Linked DNA regions of Homo sapiens: region 1 is linked to region 2. The links are contacts of gene promoters, found by promoter capture Hi-C in blood cells and fetal thymus (Javierre and others, 2016). All regions are on one chromosome and are shown on one strand. The core of a region is centred on a gene start or on the middle of the fragment in contact, and the rest is flanking DNA. Distances in the headings are between cores, read along the strand shown.

The links. Contacts are between HindIII fragments. The CHiCAGO score rates a contact against its expected background, and 5 or more counts as called.
Region 1: a contact is called between the fragment with the promoter of DRP2 here and the fragment with the promoter of ARL13A in region 2, in 5 of 17 cell types (non-activated CD4 T cells, erythroblasts, endothelial precursors and 2 more). The highest score is 8.7, in non-activated CD4 T cells.

What each region holds. Positions count from the first base shown.
Region 1 is chrX:101,218,188-101,221,584 of GRCh38, reverse strand. DRP2 (dystrophin related protein 2) reads right to left here and starts at 1,799. Exons shown (of 24, transcript NM_001939.3): 1 at 1,439-1,799. The HindIII fragment of the contact is 8,546 bases long and covers 1-3,397 here.
Region 2 is chrX:100,967,741-100,971,035 of GRCh38, reverse strand. It overlaps ARL13A (ARF like GTPase 13A), which reads right to left and starts at 1,328. Exons shown (of 8, transcript NM_001162491.2): 1 at 1,227-1,328. The HindIII fragment of the contact is 2,181 bases long and covers 1-2,054 here.

The DNA.
Region 1 (3,397 bases), core at 550-3,049, 250 kb before region 2:
ACAGGAAGAGGAGTTCTTTCCATGTGCCTTCATCCCCCAGCAATGGTTTACAGAAAGCAAGACTACAGGACAGAGGCCTGCCAACCCAGAGACAGAGGGGCTTGGTCTTCTTTCAGAAACAGGACACAACACTGCCACTTCCAACACTGCCTTTTCACGGAGGTTTCCTTAGAAGGCCCTGAGATTCTCTGGGATCATCTCCCCACGCAAACCTTAGAAGGAAAATCACCTGAGGCTTGTGGTTCCCACAGGCCTTTTAAAAGGTGATTTACCTGAGGGCCTTTCATCTAGAAACAAGGATTCTTTGGAAAAGTCAGGAATTAAGATGAACTAGACATAGAGCTTTTTTAAGGCTTTTGTTCTTTTGACAATCAAAAAGAAAACATTTTTAAAAAGTATGTTCTTTTCCAGACAGCATGCACCATGCTTTCAACGGAAGCAGGCAGCAGCTGCTGCTGACGTTCTCCTCTACCCCACTCCACCCCACCCCAGCCCAGCCTTGCCACCTGCTTAGACCCAACACCTGTGAGGCCTGGCTCGACCTGCCTACCAAAGGAAGGATAAACATTAACTACCCATATAGTCTCAGGCCCACTTACTAGGCTGGGGCACTTGGTCCGATGCTGGGAAAGGTGGTGAGAGCAGAAGGTGATAGGGTGTTGGACTCCAAGAGAAGCAAGCCCTATTTGAAACCACTCCAAGCTATGCTTTCAAGAGTGGAAAGATGCCTCCTGATTACAGGGTGTAGAAAGGAAACCAGGGGAGAAGATAAGGGGGAAAAATGTCACAGGAAAAACAACAGAGCCAGGAAGTAAATACAGAGATGAGATGAGCCCTTCAGCTCCAGGCTCTTAGGTCAGAGCCTGGTTTACTTCAGCAAAGAACTCCTGTGTCCTGTCTGCTGGCCAGAATACTCATTTGTTCAGGGAACCTGCTCCAAGGTCCCATGTTTCCTCTCTCCTCCCTTGTTAGCCAAGGCTTTCCACACACCTTTGCTTCCCTCCTGCCAAGAAGTATACCCTTGGACAAAAAGCATGCTATTGAGAACCTAAAATAAATAAATGCCCCTCTTTTCTCAAAGAAGCAAACTGTGTACCTCCTTCTTATTCATTTTTAGACCTTAGTTGCTCAAATCGGCTTGAGTTTCTATTCTTGGGCATCTTTTTTTTTTTCTTTATGAATCTAAATGGTGACTACTTTATTGTGGGCATTTTTAAATGCAAGTTTTCCACTAAAGGCACATGCAAGCAGACCGCAGGCAGGCACGCGTACACACACACACACACACACACACACACGCACACACACACTCATTTTCCCTCTCTCCCCCCACCCCTCGCCCGCCACACAGTACCTCTGGAGCTTCCCCTCCCTCAGTCATTTCCCCTCAGCCAGCTGAACAAGGCCAAGGCTTGGAAATAATTTTTCTGTGGCCTACCTTCTGATTCCGTCAGGTCTGAGAAGCAGGCGGCAGCTGTAAGCTGGGAGGCCGGGGCTGGGCTGCCTCTGTGAATCAGCAAAGAAGTCCCTGAGACAGGGATGCCGACAGCTGCTGTATGCACACTCTCCCTCTGTCTCTCCCACTTCCCTGTCTTCCTTCTTCTCCTCCTCCTCCCCTCTCAGAGCTGCTCTGTGTTGCTATGCAATCATATCACCAGGACTAACAGCATCATTCCGACCTCAGGCAAAAATACCCTTGACTGGGCAAACGCAGGAAGAGCAAGGACAGTTTTGTAAAACTACCAGAGATGTGGCGGCTCTTGGAGATGTCAATTCATTAGAAGCAGAGGAGGAAAGCGGAAGAGCCTGAGAAGCAGAGGGGGAGAGAAGGAGACAAGGAGAGGGGGAAGAGGGAGAGAGGGGGAGAGGGGGAGAGGGGAAGAGGGGGAGAGGCTTCCACTGGGGAGGAGGAGACAAAAGAGCCCTGGAGATCAATCAGGCTGCTGAGCGAGCAGCCTGGACCCCAACTTACACCGATCTAGCCCACAGACAAAACCAACTTTGGAGCCAGCAGCTGGCAGGGGCCCCTCGGTAGCCAGTCCAGGATTCTGCTTCTGTGTTGAGGGTTGAAACACTGTGGTCTGGAATCATCACTGGTACTCAAGGTACAGTTTTGGGCTCAGGACAGTCTGCCAGTCACCCCTAAGTCTCATCCTCACACCCTCTTAGATCTCACGTGTAGAAAAAGCCTCAACAAATTGGGGAAACAAAATGGATCTTGAATAATTCAGGAAAATACAGCTCCTCCATGACTCACCTCAATGACTACTACCCCAGGCACCTTCCTGCTTTTGTCCATACCAGCCCTTACTCTTTTAACTGTCACGCTTGTTAAAGAGAAGAGGGTATGAGCTCCAAACACCCTCAGAGACCTGGGAGAAGCCACTGGCAGGATAGATAAGATTATATCCCTTTACCAAGTGCCCAGCACACAGTAGGTTACTTAATAAATATATGTTGAATGAGTAAATTGAATGAATAGGTGGATGAATAGCAGTCAGAAAGTCCCCATCCTCACCCTCCTACACAAACATACAAAGATTTAAAGCCCCAGCAGTCCCAGGCCACAGCAAAGGATAAAAGCAGCTTTCTTCTTTCCTCCCTCCATCTCTGGGAACAGGGTGTATATGGAGAGAGACAAAGACTGGTTGGGAGTGGGTTGCTTAAGTTCACTGATTTGCCTCTAAAAATTTTATAAGCTCTGATGGCACTGGAACTTAGAAAATACTTCCTAGGGTCGGGCGTGGTGGCTCACGCCTATATAATCCCACACTTTGGGAGGCCGAGGCAGGCGGATCACAAGGTCAGGAGTTCGAGACAAGCCTGACCAACATGGTAAAACCCCCGTCTCTACCAAAAAAATACAAAAATTAGCTGGGCGTGGTGGTGTGCGCCTGTAATCCCATCTACTCAGGAGGCTGAGGCAGGAGAATCACTTGAACCTGGGAGGTGGAGGTTGCAGTGAGCCAAGATCGCACCACTGCACCCAACCTGGGTAACAGAGCAAGACTCTGTCTCAAAAAAAAGAAAAAAAGAAAGAAAGAAAGAAAGAAAATACTTCCTAGGACTAGTATTTACATAGGATCTAGGACTAGTATTTACATAGGATCTAGGACTAGTGTTTACAAAGTGTCTAAAGGACCCAGAATTACTGTTTTTTTTCAGTTCCATTTTAAAATTATTATGTGATTTTTTTATGAAGTATTTTTATTATTTATTTTTAATTGACAAATAATAATTGTATATATTTATGGGCTCCAGCGTGATGTTTTGATCTATGTATACTATGCAGAAAAATTCAGCCCAGCCAATTAACATATTCATCATCCCACCAACTTATCATTTTTTTTGTAGCAAGAACATTAGAAATCTATTATTTTAGCAATTTTGATACATA
Region 2 (3,295 bases), core at 79-2,578:
AATGCTGCTATAAACATTTGTATATAAGTTTTTGTGTGGATATGTTTTCTTTTCTCTTGGGTATATACCTAGGAGTATTACTGCTGGGTTATATAATAAATCTATATTTAACCTCTTGAAGAACTGCCAGACTGTTTTGCAAAGTGGCTACAACATCTTACATTCCCACCAGTAATGCTTGTTTTTTGTTTACAGCTATCCTAGTGGGTGTGAGGTAGGTATTTCATTGTGGTTTCAATTTACATTTTCCTAATGACTAATTATGGTTGACCCTTGAACAACATGGGTTTGAACTGCATGAGTCTACTTATACCAGGCTTTTTTTTTTTCAACCAAATGAGGATATTTGTGAATGTGAAACCCACGTATATGCAGGGCTAACTTTTCATATACATGGGTTTCGCAGTGCCAACTGCAGGATTTGAGAATGCACAGATTTTGGTATATGAGGGGGTTCAGGAACCCATTTCCCCCGAGTTTACTGAGGGACGACTGTATGTTGAAGCCCAAAATTGGAGGAAGCCCTGGTTGGGTTAGCAAAGTACTTCAGTTAATGCTTCGATGGGCTTTGCTTAGCTATCTGATGAGCACAGTTTATGTGCCAGCTTATCAATGGATAATTTATCAGGGTTCTGCAGAGTCATCCAGTCATTTACTGTTCTGGAGAGTTGCCATTCCAAAATACTAACATTTCATAGCATTTCTTATAGCACAGCTCAGACCCTAGGAGATCATTAGGTTTCCCATAAGGACCTCCTGGAGAATGGCTCTGGCTTATGCCAGACAAAAAAGAAACTTTATATATGGCCTGTGATCAAAACCAGCCTTACTCCAGTTTTGCACATGAAGCTGATATGACCAGGAGCCTGAAACATCAGAGCCTAATTGTCTGGGTTCCTTGATAGCCATCTCCCTTGGAGAAGAGGCCAGTAACCGCTTCATGTCTGTTTCCTAATAATTGGCAGAGCCTTCTAACTTGATGTCAGGCTCTCTGTGTTTGTCAGTGCCACCAAGAAGTGTCAAATTGGCATCACACAAGTTCTTCCTTTATAAGGAAGGGTAGGTATGAAAACCCAACTGGGAAAATGATTGAATTAGGGATTGCTGGACTGATCCTTTATTTCTAGTGCCTCTTCTGGGTAGCCTGAAGTGAAATCACCTCAACTAAACCTACCATTTCCAAATTTCTTATCTGTAAAATGAAGATAGTGACATATTTTGCTTACCATGAGGTGGTTATTTATCTGATAAGTTGATTCTTTTTGGATGGAAGACATAAGATATGCAGAGTAATAGGAAGACGCATTGAGCTTTCTAGCCTTCTTGTCAGATTAACACAGCTTAGGTTGTCCATTTATAAAAGCTATGGCAATGTCCTAATAATGGTTGTCACGGTACTGACATGTCTGTGGCAACCACTACCTGGTTCATAGCAACCAAACTCATATCTCCTTACCTTGTATGATTATAGATAATTACTAAAGGAACTTTAAGTCATCATAGTTTTTATTCATTTTACAAAATATTTATATAGAATTTACTTTGTGCCAGGGCTCATTAAAGCACTTTATACACATTAATTCATTTAATCCTTACTACAGCATGACAAAGTAGGGGCTATCATTCCTACTTTTCAGAGATGAAGTTGTTCACAAAGGGGTTACATAACTTGCCAAAGGTTACCTAGCTAATAAATGGTAAAGCCAGAATTCAAACCTAGGCATTCTGGCTTCAGGGTCTGTATTAGGTCAAAGGTCTTGCAGACCTCAGATACCAGAGAAACTGCCTCTGCTCTGCGTATCTCTATCTCTTCTAGCCAAACTGTATCATACTTAGTGAACTTTTTATAAAATGCTTTATTTTTCAGAATGGTTTTAGATATACAGAAAAATTGCTAAGACAGTACAGTGAGTAACCATCCCTAACACCCAATTTCCCTCATTGTTAACATCTTACGATGCTGTATTTGTTACAATTAATGAACCAGTATTAATACATTGTTATTAACTAAAGTCCATACTTCATTCAGATTTCCTTAGTTTTTAACTTAAGCTTCTCAGATTTTGTTTTGTTTTGTTTTTTGGAGACAAGGTCTGGCTCTGTGGCCCAGGCTGGAGTGCAGTAGTGTGATCATGGCTAACTGCAGCCTCAAACTCCTGGGCTCAAGCAATCCTCCTGCTTCAGCCTCCCAAGTACCTAGGACTGCAGGCATGCACCACCATCCTTGGCTAATTTATTTTTTATTCTTTTTAGAGAAGGGTCTTGCTATATTGCCCAGGCTGGTCTTGAAGCCTGGCCTCAAGTGATCCTCCCACTGTGGCCTCCCAAAGGGGTGGAATTATAGGCATGAGATACCACATCCAGCCACTCTATTTGTCTTTGATGACCTTGACAGGAGTGTTCATCAGGTATTTTGTAGAATACCCCTCACTTGTTGTTTATCTGATGTTTTTCTCATGATTAGACTGAAGTTATGTGTTCTTGGGAGGAAGGCCACAGAGGTAACGTGCCATCCTCATCACATCATATCAAGGATACATGCTGTCAACATGACTTATCACTGATGATGTTAACCTTGATCACCTGGCCGAGGCAGTGTTTATCAGATTTCTCCACTGTAAAGATACTCCCCCTACTTTCTATCCTGTACTCTTTAGAAGGAAATCAGTATGCATTGGCCATACTTATAGAATGGGGAGTTATCCTCCACCTCCTTGAGGTGGAGTATCTACAAAAGTTGTTTGGAATTCTTCTGTATGGGGGGGGGGTCTGTCTATTCTTACACATTTGTTTATTAAATCATTCATTTATACAGTATGGGCTCACATATATTTATTTTATCCTCTGATTATAATCAATACCTCTTTATTTTCTTGCTCAAGTCGTTCCAACTTTGGCCTGGGGAGCTCTTTCAGTTGACTCCTCCCTCTGACATACTCTCATCATTGTAGGTTTTTAAAAATTTTTATTATTCTTATTTTGAGACAGAGTCTTGCTCTGTCACCCAGGCTGGAGTGCAGTGGCACGATCTCAGACCACTGCAACCTCTACCTCCCAGGTTCAAGCAATTCTACTGTCTCAGACTCCCAAATAGCTGGGACTACAGGCGCACACCACCATGCCCGGCTAATTATTGTATTTTTAGTAGAGATAGGGTTTCACCATGTTGGCCAGGCTGGTTTTGAACTCCTACCTCAGGTGATCCACCCACCTTGGCCTCCCAAGTGCTTGGATTACAGGTATTAGCCACCGCATCCGGCCCACATACTTACTCTTAATTCTAAATTTTGAATTG